Linked DNA regions of Homo sapiens: all the other regions are linked to region 3. The links are contacts of gene promoters, found by promoter capture Hi-C in blood cells and fetal thymus (Javierre and others, 2016). All regions are on one chromosome and are shown on one strand. The core of a region is centred on a gene start or on the middle of the fragment in contact, and the rest is flanking DNA. Distances in the headings are between cores, read along the strand shown.

Evidence for each region. The method cuts DNA at HindIII sites, captures the fragments that hold promoters and counts their contacts. A CHiCAGO score of 5 or more calls a contact.
Region 1: a fragment that was not itself captured here is called in contact with the fragment with the promoter of NOS2 in region 3 in 1 of 17 cell types (erythroblasts); the score reaches 5.7 in erythroblasts.
Region 2: a contact is called between a fragment that was not itself captured here and the fragment with the promoter of NOS2 in region 3, in 1 of 17 cell types (endothelial precursors). The highest score is 5.9, in endothelial precursors.

The regions. Positions count from the first base shown.
Region 1 is chr17:28,353,476-28,357,075 of GRCh38, forward strand. It overlaps POLDIP2 (DNA polymerase delta interacting protein 2), which reads right to left. Exons shown (of 11, transcript NM_015584.5): 2 at 2,320-2,401; 3 at 1,013-1,110; 4 at 220-316. Among named protein-coding and RNA genes, the nearest start is that of POLDIP2, 2.3 kb to the right of the region's middle. RefSeq lists an enhancer at 3,452-3,600. The HindIII fragment of the contact is 1,713 bases long and covers 1,315-3,027 here.
Region 2 is chr17:28,326,625-28,330,376 of GRCh38, forward strand. TMEM97 (transmembrane protein 97) reads left to right here. Exons shown (of 3, transcript NM_014573.3): 3 at 1-2,061. The coding sequence ends at 169. IFT20 (intraflagellar transport 20) reads right to left here. Exons shown (of 5, transcript NM_001267776.2): 4 at 2,549-2,652; 5 at 1,702-2,109. The coding sequence ends at 2,028. Among named protein-coding and RNA genes, the nearest start is that of IFT20, 7.0 kb to the right of the region's middle. RefSeq lists an enhancer at 545-594. The HindIII fragment of the contact is 691 bases long and covers 2,088-2,778 here.
Region 3 is chr17:27,798,421-27,802,443 of GRCh38, forward strand. NOS2 (nitric oxide synthase 2) reads right to left here and starts at 2,109. Exons shown (of 27, transcript NM_000625.4): 1 at 1,919-2,109; 2 at 280-462. The coding sequence starts at 389. RefSeq lists promoters at 1,942-4,023, 2,022-3,139, 2,022-2,314, 2,073-4,023, an enhancer at 2,283-2,311 and a cis regulatory region at 2,624-2,646. The HindIII fragment of the contact is 2,695 bases long and covers 41-2,735 here.

The sequences.
Region 1 (3,600 bases), core at 921-3,420, 560 kb after region 3:
CTCACCACTGCACTCCAGCCTGGCGACAGAGTGAGACTCCATATCAAAAAAAAAAAAAAAGACGTGAATCAGGGCTTTGTTGGCCACTGTGCAGTCCAAGGCCTTGGGGACCAAGACTGACCTGGGCTCTGTTTGACCCCCTTCCCTCCCTTTGTCCCCATTGGGATGCAGGACTTTCCATGGAGAGGACCCCCAAGCCCAGCCATCTTGCTTACTTACTATATGTGGGCAGTCACGAGCATCAATCAGCACCTGATAGTAAGTGTGAGTTTTGCCTTTCACCTCCTTGGAGCCATGGCCAGCAGGGTTCTCTGCTCTATGGGGTGGGAGAAGGAGGCCAAGATCACCCCAGGAGAAATGGAAGCTGTGGCTGACTCAGCTCCCTACTCCTCCTCACCTAAACAGGCTGGTCTCTGATCTAAAGGGGCTTTAGCACCAGCTGGACACCTGCTCTGCAGCACCTCAGCTCAGCTGCTCCTCAGTTGGGGCAAATAATAGAGCATGGAAGACCATGGTATGGAGCCATCATCTGACCGTGTGGATACCTCTTAAAAGAAGGGGGCCATGTTGAGAAAATCAAATTGCCACCTCAGTCCCCAGGGCCCAGAGTACTCTTGTCTTCTTATATCCCAGGGACTGTCTGTGATCACTTAATGGGGCTGAACCTTTTCTGTTTTAATGTATTCTAGGGATGATGTGAGATTGAGGGAAAGACTCCAGCTGAACATCAAGAAATCAAGAAGACTTGTCCCCCAAATGCCCTCTGGGATACTCATAATGAAAATTAGGAATGGCTTAGGAAAGCATTCTGAGGAGGCCTAAAGGGACTCTCTGACTTAGACTATCCCTGGCACTCAGCACTTTTGTCTCCATGGGTCTTAGTCCCAGAGAAGTACTCTGGGGATGTTTCCAAGGCCTAGGAGGACGCTGTCTTCACCCCTAGTACCCCAATTACATATGTCTGCCATCTCCTCCTGAGGATACTGTGAGGCACAACCACAGGGAAACTTACTTTTCTGGAGCTGCAGAAGCCACATCCCGGTCATACAGTCTGGCCTGCCAGGGAAACAGGACGACACCTCGGTAGCCAAAAATGCTATGAAGGAAAAGCTGGAAGGAAAGAGGGGCCTCAGTGAGTCTGCAGTCCAGCAAATCCATCCAGGTGGGCCCCAGACCACAAAGCAACACAGGTGGAGGCAACTCCAGCACAAGGTCTTGCTACCTCTTCCCTTGAAGTCTGTGATCAACCAGACCAATGCTGGAACACTCTTATTTCTTCTTTACCTGGCTGACTCTACTCATCCTTTAGGTAAAAGCTTAGGCCTCCAGGAAGCCTTCCCTGACCTCCCTTCCACTTAGCACAATGTACAGCTATTGGCCATTTGCAAATCGTTCTTTTCTAGACTAGAAACTCCACAATAGCAGGAATCATGTCTACTTTGCTTTCTGATTTAACCCTAATGCACAATGCCTAGTCCATTGTAGGCACACAGAAAAATAAAATGTTGAACAAACAAAAAGTCTTCCTTACCTACAATATCCTAGAAGGGCCTAAATCTATCCCAGTGGACCCAGAACAAAGCTGATATAGAAAAAGAACCACACATCCAGAGTTTACCACACTGAAGTCAATTTTATTACGGCAAAGCATCAAAGGTATACTTTTCTGAAAGCTCCCTCCACGGCTTCCCACCATCCACTATGTTAGAGAAATCTTCAGCAACTTGGCTAAACCTCACTATAGTCCACACCATCCCTGTCCACATTAACTTGGAAAGAGAACCCACTGACACATTAAGTGCATTCAAATCCAGGAGAACAGAAACCCTATCTATAAAAATTTGATTCTGGGCTGGGTGCGGTGGCTCACGCCAGTAATCCCAGGACTTTGGGAGGCCAAGGCAGGTGGATCACCTGAGGTCGGGAGCTCGAGACCAGCCTGACCAACATGGAGAAACCGCATCTCCACTAAAAGTACAAAATTAGCCAAGTGTGGTGGCGCATGCTTGTAATCCCAGCTACTAGGGAGGCTGAGGTAGGAGAACTGCTTAAACCCAGGAGGTGGAGCTTGCAGTGAGCCGAGACCATGCCATTGCACTCCAGCCTGGGCAACAAGACTGAAACTCCGTCTCACAAAAAATAAATAAATAAAATAAATAAATAAAATAAAAAATGAATACAAATTTGATTCTGGAATGGCACCAAACATCAAGGTGGAATGAATGGAACACCATACCATGCAGGCCTGTGACCTAATCTGACTTTTTTCAGAAGCAGAGCACTCTATGAAAATGAAAGATGACCCAGCCCAATACTCACCTGCCCGGTCTCATATTTTCCATTCTGTTTTGGCACCTCAAACACACCAACTGTCTCCAACACTTTGCCCTCTGGTCGGTTTCTGAGTAGGAAGGAAAAGAACAAGCAACAGAAAAGCTGAGAAGGTAATGGTAGTTATCCATAAGAAAAAGCTCCTAGGATACTGAGGGGCCAGGGCGATGACAGCAGAGAAGGGTTTGGGGTAGTGGGACCAGCTGGAGCAGGAAAGGCTTTCCTCCTCCTTGGTGAAAACCTCCACAGTCTCCCAGTGTTAGATGTGACCGCTCCCATACTACTGTCTTCTCTCTTCACTGGGCATTCTTCATATCATGCCCTCACACTCTGCTCAAATGTACCCCTGCCCTTGTTTCTTCCCTAACCCACCCTCCTGACCTCCCACAGCACTTTAACTGTCTTGCTCACTTTTTCAATTTTTTTAGAAGGGGAGTATCTTTTTTTCTTCTTTTCTTACATTTTCTATATCACAAGTCATCAAACAATATCCTGCTCCCTTTACATTTCAGTTGTGTCCATGTCTTATCTTTATTAAATACTGTAAATTCCCTGGGAGCAATGCCTGAGTCTGATTAGCTGGTACTGCCCCCTCAGAGCCTAGTGTACAAGAGGTGCTCAAAAAATATTTGTCCTGTATTATAATTCCATGTCCATCTCCCCCTCTAACCTGTAGCCCTTACATTGCCCTTGAAAAGCTTAAACATCTCTAGATTTCCTACGGCACATCGCTCTCTCAATACCGTTTTTGTTCATATTCTCACAGGGGTCTTAAATTGCAAATAGCTATCATCTCTCCCCAATGTTCAGTGTCTAATATCAGCCACTAAAATGTCAGTCACCACTCTGAACAGGGCTGCTCTTTCTAGGGGCCCTTCAAATAAAGGCTGTTTTTACTGTTTTGAAGATGTGAACTTTATGCTTCCTCCCACTGATCCACCAGCCCATTTGATCCGCCTGTCCCATCCGTGGAAACAGTTTCCACACCATCCCCATGGCCTCAAACCCCCTTCCCCAAGTCACAGATAGAAAATCGATCTCCCCAAAGTCACTTGGAAACCTGGGGCCTACGAGGGTCCACACCCAAGAGTCTCGTTTCCCACCTCTAGCATCTTTCTGAGGCAGACCTTCACCAAATCCAAAGGCTGAGGGTTCAAGCCAATGCCCTAGGGCTGAATTAAAAAGCTTCCCTCTGACATCGGTGCTGGGGACCCCAGCCGGGGAAGTAGGATTCACTTGGGGAGGGTAACCTGTTCCCCCCCAGGGCCA
Region 2 (3,752 bases), core at 1,183-3,682, 530 kb after region 3:
GGATTTCTCCAAAGCCAGTGGTTTCAAGGGACAAAGACCTGAGACTTTGCATGAACGGTTAACCCTTGTGTCTGTCTATGCCCCCTACTTACTCATCCCATTCATACTTTTAATTTTCATGTTGCGGAGCCCCTACTACAAGTATGAAGAGAAAAGAAAAAAAAAATGAAGGAAACAACCACTGGCCCAGGGTAGAGATGCCTACAGGGTGGTTGCTTGTTGGATACAATACAAGGAACACTGCTCAGAACCCACGTCTTCAGCAGCATTTGAAACACTGGCAGCAATGCACAAGAGCAAGATGGTGTCAGGAACCATGTCAAACCCTCACCTTCTTCCATTTTTTTTTTTTTTTTAAGACAGTCTCACTCTGTTGCCCAGGCTGGAGTAAAGGGCAGTGGCATGATCTCGGCTCACTGCAACCTCCGCCTCCTGGGCTCAAGCCATCTTCCTTAGCCTCCCAAGTAGCTAGAACTACAGGTGTGTACCAACACGTATGGCTAATTTGTTTTGTTTTTTTTGTGTGTGTGGAGACAGGGTTTTGCCATGTTGCCCAGGTTGGTCTCGAACGCCTAGGCTCAAGTGATCTGCCCACCTCAGTCTCCCTAAGTGCTGGGATTACAGACGTGAACCACTGGGCCCAGCCCAAACCTTCACCTTCTAAGGGCACTGGGATGAACAGACCGATCGGCTTGAGGGTGGGCAAAGGGGTGTGGGCTAGGTTATAAGGAAGTGGTACCAAATAACTGTGTGCCTGAGTTCCACCGCAAGATTACTAAAAGCAGGACCAGACCAGAAACTGCTAAAGAACATGGCCTGTTTGACATGTTCATGAGTCACCTGACCCACAGCATATATGCTTATGACTAAACCCTCCACTCCTGATTCTCAAGAGTGTATCACCTGTCAGCAAAATGAATAGTGGGATATTTTGGGCCATTTTAAATGTGAAATTTTGCCTCTTTAATGTTAATTCAAAACTATATCAATGTTTTCTTGTTCCCACCTCTAACCCAAGGAAAAAAGAGAAAACATACTATGCAAAGGAAGTTTAAACTTAAGTTTTCCTTAAGGGTCAGCCCAACAATGACTTTCAGTCAAATGGATTAAACTGGAAAATGTTTTTGTTTCTGTTGTAAACAGATCATCCTAGGCGAAAGTTTTTTTTGTTTGTTTGCTTTTAAATTAGTTTATTTCTAAATCTTAGTCTTCCACATTTCTAGAGGCCACCTGACACAAGTCCCTGTATCTGAAGTCTAGCATCTCAAGGCTGATCTGGAAGTGTGCTAGTATGCTCCCTAGTGGATAACTTAATCTTTTAATACAGTTCCGTCATTCCCATCTTGTTTTCAGAAGAGAAGGTGGCTACAGCCAGGCATAACATATCCACTGTGTGCATAGAGGGTCTCTTCACGTTGATGCTTGGCATTCCATCAGCTTTCTCTAAGTCTTTGCTCAAGTTCAACCTTAAAATGATGTTAGACAACAGGTCCCAGTCAGTTCCCTCTATTTTCACCCATTTTGCTCACAAGCCATATTGGCCCGATTAGTGGTACTGTCTGACTCACGTGTGTGATCCAAATAAAGGTAGCTGCTGACCACTGCCTGGTTTGTTTTGTGGACTAGGGGATAGAGAATCCAGGGTTCTCTCATGAGGAGTTAAACATATTTCAAGAGCAACAGGAAAAAAGGTACATCAAGCCATTTGAAAACAAAAATTTATTGCTTCTCCTTCCAAAGCTTTGTGAATTTACAAAAAAAAGGATGAAAGTTTACAAACTGCTTAGTTCCAACTAAGCATAAGAGGTGAGAACGTACACTGCAGGGCCACCAGCAGCAGCTGTGCACTGATGTTAAAACTGGCTCCCCCAGACTTGTAGTGCTGTCTTCAGGGGGCTGCATTCCTTACACGCCACCTCTTGTGACATAGGTCATTGGTCAAGCCGCTGGAATGCTACAGAGGTTTTTTTGGTTTTGAGAGGCTTTTTTTTGTTTTGCCTTCCTACTATAAAAGCGAAATTTTCAGTTCATTTCTGAAAAATAAATTGGTCAATAAATTCATTTTGTTCTGCTTCTACTTTACACAAAGCTTCATATTCAACCCGATACCTGAAAAACAAAATTGTTAGAGGCCCTGAAAAAAAGATGAAGTAAACCACAGACCTAATTCTTCTAGAGAAGGATATAGAGGTTTAAATGATTTCAAGAAATGGTGTGAGTTCAGAATGAAGAAAGAAAGAGGCAAAGCCCTACCCAGAGCCACCCATGAGAAATCTCCAGCCCTAGGAAAGTCTTCTTTCAGAGAGCCAGCCAACTTCGTGGACCCTTTCATGCTCAAACTACTAGAGGTGGTTTGATATTAACAAGTTTTCTATTTCCTTCCCATCAAATGTAATTTTATTTTTTAAAATCTTCAAATCAGGATGACAAGTGAGATGCTATTCCTGGGAAAACAATGATGAAGAATAAGGACAAGAAGTGATCATTCCAGAAGGAAGAGTGGAAATTCAGCTGTGTAAAGAACTTGCTTTACATCATGACTTCTTACCTTTCTAGCTGCATTTTCTTTTCTGCTATTAGGGCTTGAAGTTGCTGCTGTTGAGCTTCTCTCTGCTTTGCTATAGATTTGAGCAAGTTCCGAGCACCGATGGCCTACAGTATTGCCAGAGAAGGCCATGGCTTCATTAAAACCATCTACAGCATCAAGTCCTCAAAGTGGGGAGGGGTTATCTGGGAGCTGTGTCAGTCTTCAGAGAGGAAAAGAAAGTGGAGCCCCAAAGCTTTTGGGTTAAGTCAGAAGGATTAACCTACTGATCACAAAGTGCCTCAAGAACTAGACGGCAGCTTTGAGGCAGGTCTAGGAGTATTCCTAGAGCCAGGGACACAGGCACAATAGCACATTTGGTGGTGCCATTCAGCCTTGTGCCTTTCACCAATCATACTATGTAAGCCTTCATTTCTTCATTTATAAAATGAGGATAAGACCATCTACATCAGTGCTGATATGAAGATGAAACGAGGCCAGGTGTGGTGGCTCACACCTGCAATCCCAGCACTTTGGGAGGCCAAGGTAGGCAGTTCACTTGAGGCCAGGAGTTTGCAACCAGCCTGGCCAACATGGTGAAACCCCATCTTTACTAAAAATACAAAAAAATGGCCGGGCGCAGTCACTCACGCCTTAATCCCAGCACTTTGGGAGGCTGAGGCGGGCGGATCACCTAAGGTTGGGAGTTTGAGACCAGCCTGACCAACATGGAGAAACCCTGTCTCTACTAAAAATACAAAATTAGCCAGGCATGGTGGCACATGCCTGTAATCCCAGCTACTCGGGAGGCTGAGGCAGGAGAATCGCTTGAACCCAGGAGGCGGAGGTTGCAGTGAGCCAAGATCGCACCATTGCACTCCAGCCTGGGCAACGAGAGAAAACTCCGTCTCAAAAAAAAAAAAAAAAATACAAAAACCTCAGCTGGGTGTGGTGGCACACACCTGTAGTCCCACCTACTCGGGAGGGTGAGGTGGGAGAATCGCTTGAATCTGAGAGGCAGAGCTTGCAGTGAGCCGAGATTGCACCAGTGCACTCCAGCCTGGGTGACACAGCAAGACTCTGTCTCAAAAAAAAAAAAAAAATAAAGATTAAAGGAAATAAAGATTGGCAAAAGTTCAGTAGGTTAAGTGGACCAGAAGTTATTAAAATCTTAAATAAAAATTCACCCACCCAGCCCTCTACCCCTCTAAATAAATCAAGAGGGAAG
Region 3 (4,023 bases), core at 859-3,358:
CAGGCCAAGCTCCTTCCCATATTCTTCCCCAAAGATTCCAAGCTTCTTCAGGGCCAGCCCCGCACCATGTCCCTTCCTTCTTCACATACCGTCAGGCACAGCGAGGTGCCCAATAATCAGCGGCTGCATTGAATTCCAACAGGGACTTTCAAGAAGCAATGAGGAGATCAGACCTCAGGTGAGAGAGGAGGAGCAGAGAGAGGAATTCTGAGTCATCGGTGCCGACAGGGCATGGGTGCCCAAGGAGACAAGCAGGAGGTTCCCCCAGGGAAAACTCACCTGGAGGTGGCACAGGGGGCTTTCTCCACATTGTTGTTGATGTCTTTTTCCCCATTCATTGCATACTGGTGGAATTTGGTCTTGAACAGAAATTTCCAAGGACAGGCCATCTCTATGGCTTTACAAAGCAGGTCACTTATGTCACTTATCTGGATTTGAGCTCAGATGTTCTTCACTGTGGGGCTGAAGAAGGGAAGCAGAGGTGAGGGAAGGTTGAAGAAGAGTTTACAGAACAGGGCTTCTCAGTGGGGTTGGCTCACTGGGGAATCGATATGAACGCCAGCATGAGCCCCTTCATCAATGCTTTGCAACCTCTGTCTCTATTTCGGGGTTGGAATGGGGAGCCTTCGGACACAGACTTCAATTCTGTAAAGCCACCTAATAATCTTAAGGAAAAACAATGAACCCCCCCATCCCCATCGCCACTTAACAAGGACAAACTGTATGCACCATGAGCCTCCTTAGCGGGACCTGCTGGCCCACCAGACCCAGCCAGGCTTCATCACTGGCCACAGGCAGGGTGAGGAAGAGCCCGGAGGTCGTTGAAACAGGGGTGCCTTTGCCTGACCCTGAAAGACACTTCCCAGCAGCTCTCATTATCAACTGTAGTTTTAGGTCTATTACTGGGGAAAGCACTCAAGCTGTAGCTACCTTTCTTTTAAAGATTTTGCAGTTGTTGTTCTAACTCAGCATTATTACTTGCTCCTCTTTTATTATGTGGGGAGGAAATATTTGTGAAAAATGCACTCATCCCTCGAAATCTGAGATCATCTCCTTTGAAACAGACAAGAGGAAGATCAAAGAGGCAAAAACTCTGTCTTTAGAAGACAGTGTAGTGAATATAGTCCATGTAAGAATTTTAGGCCAAGTGCAGTGGCTCACGCCTGTAATCCCAGCATTTCGGGAGACCGAGGCAGGAGGATCGCTTGAGTCCAAGAGTTCGAGTTCAGCCTGGGCAACATAGGGAGACCTTGACTACAAAAAATTGAAAAATTAGCCAGGCAGGCATGGTGTCTTGTGCCTGTAGTCCCAGCTACTCGGGAGGCTGAGGCAGAAGGATTGCTTGAGGCTGGGCAGTCAAGGCTGTTTCCAAAAAAAAAAAAGAAAGAAAGGGAAGGGAAGGGAGGGGAAGGGAGGAAAGGACAGGAAGGAAAGGAAGGAAAGAGGGAAAGAAAGAAAAGAACTTATAGCCCCATAGACCTGGGTTCAAATCCTGGAATCCTAGCTCTACCAGTTATGTGTCCTGGATCAAGTTATTTAACTGAAACTCATTTATTCATCCATAAAATGGGTTTAATATATCCATCTTACCAGGATTTGTGGGGAGGTTACATGTTATAAGGACTGATAAGATAATCTCTGTTAAAAAAAATTCTTAGCAGATACAAACTCCCATTTTGAACTTTTCAGAAAGTTTTTCCTTGTCATGTAACAACCACAGCTAATATTTGCAGAAAAGAAATCTGACCAAGATGCCATGTTCAAATGACCAAACCTCATGTCGGCATTTTTTTACCTAGACTTTCCAACACCTTCTCTCTGTAGGCAGAAAATTCCCACAATTTTCTGAGCCTTCTCAAAGAGGAAGAAACAAAACCCTCTCAAAACAGCCGCTTCCCCAGAAATGAAGGCAACTCACCTTGCAGCTGGCTGCACTGCCTCCCCGGGGTAAGGACAGTCAAACCAGGAAGAGACCTGTGCCTTGAGAACTTCGGGACTGTCTAGAACTGCCCAGTCCCCTCATCAAAGGTGGCCGAGAGATTTTAAAGCAGGAATGAGGCTGAGTTCTCTGCGGCCGGAGCCTCAGTTTTCGACTCGCTACAAAGTTATGAACACACTGGCAGCCAAGAAGTATTTATACTCACCCCATGCCATCCAGAGAGTTGTTTTTGCATAAAGGTCTCTTTTTTTTTTTTTTTTTTTTGGTTTCCAAAGGGAGTGTCCCCAGCTTGTGTACAGTTAGCTAATTTATGACTGTGACTGCCAGGGCCTGTGGGTGACCTGATCTTGCTGTTACATCACTCTGTGTGGTGCCTCTTCACCCAACCCACCTCTTTCTGGTCCCAAGTCCAAGGTGGCAGTTCATCAGCAGGGTGGCTGCTAAGATAGAGGCACCACGGAGCCAGGTTTTATTTGGCCAAGCCACATGGCCTCACTTTCAGCATCTGGGAGATTTTTTCCTCAGCAGGGAGCTCTCTGGTTAATCCCTGTCCATCCTCTCACTTTTCCAGCTTGTGACAGGAGTCCAGGAAGCTGGGGGAATATTGACAGTATGGAACACACTGGAAAATGCCCAGGTTCCAGAAGGCCAGTGATATTAGATGATGCCATTATTCCAGACAGGCCTCTGAACTAGTCACTTGAGGTTTTTGGAAGGGAAAGGAAGGAAGGCTATTGGCACAGAGAGGCCTCTGAGATGTTGGTCTTACTAACACCTCATCCTTTAGCACTAGGTAAGCTTTGGTGGAATGGCAGGTAGGATTAAATTCCTTCCCTTATAATGGAAATGATCACTTCTTACATGAAAAAGTGGTAATTTCTTATAATTTCATTTCATTTATTTTATTTATTTATTTATTTTTGAGATGGAGTCTCATTCTGTCACCAAGACTGGAGCGGAGTGGCACGATCTCTGCTCATTGCAACTTCTGCCTCCCAGGCTCAAGCGATCCTCCCACCTCAGCCTCCTGAGTAGCTGGGACTACAGGCATGCACCACCACACCCAGCTAATATTTTTGTGTTTTTGGTAGAGACTGGGTTTCACCATGTTGTCCATGCTGGTCTCGAACTCTGAAGCTCAAGTGATCTGCCCACTTCAGCCTCTCAAAGTGCTAGGATTACAAGGGTTAGCCACCATGCCCGGCCTATAATTTCATTCCTTATAATGCCTGAAATACAGTATTCCCATACATATGCATTTTTCCATCATAAAAGTAAAATAACAACTACATTAGGGAGAAGTTGAGAAGCAAAGGGAAAAAAAGTCACCCTTGATCTCACCGTCCCAACACTTTGCTACCACTGTCCACTCATTTCCTTCTTGTCTTTCCCAAGTTAAATTCAGCATAATATATTAACTTTGTCAAAGATAAACTAAGAGCCACAAAAAAGACATGGATATCAGAGCTCAAGGATCTTTGTTGAGTGAATGTGTGGATGAATGAATGAAAAATAGGAGTAAACTGGAATGAGTTTTAACATATCAAAGCCATCTTCCCTTCAGGCTTCAGCTCAATGCTGCGGCTCAATGCTGCGGCTTAGAGCTCTGGCTTATGGAGCATCTGCCACGAAGAGCAATGCATTTTAGAAAGTGACAAGATGGCCGGGCGTGGTGGTTCATGCCGGTTCAGTTCAGGTAAACAGCACTCAGGGAAAGAGTCAGAATCCTGGCCTTAGGGAGTGCAAGGCCTAGAAAAATAAATGGATAATTATAGTACAGAGTGATATCTGTAGTGATGGAGGGATGGTATGGTGCTGATGTAGCTGGTTCTGCCTTGTTCAAGGAAAGTTTACAAGGGAGAGGACACCAGGGCAGGGTTTTGAGGGATGATTAGGAGTTTGCTACACTCTATTCCCTGTAGCTGCTTTCACATATTCTGGCTATACCTGCAGCAAACACATGTATTAACACATTTAATGCCCCCACCCAAGAGCCTCTGAGGGGGATACTACTATTTGCTATTCATGGAATCCTCAAGAATCCCATCTACTTGGCCTCAAAGCACTTCGTTGATTTTCCTTCA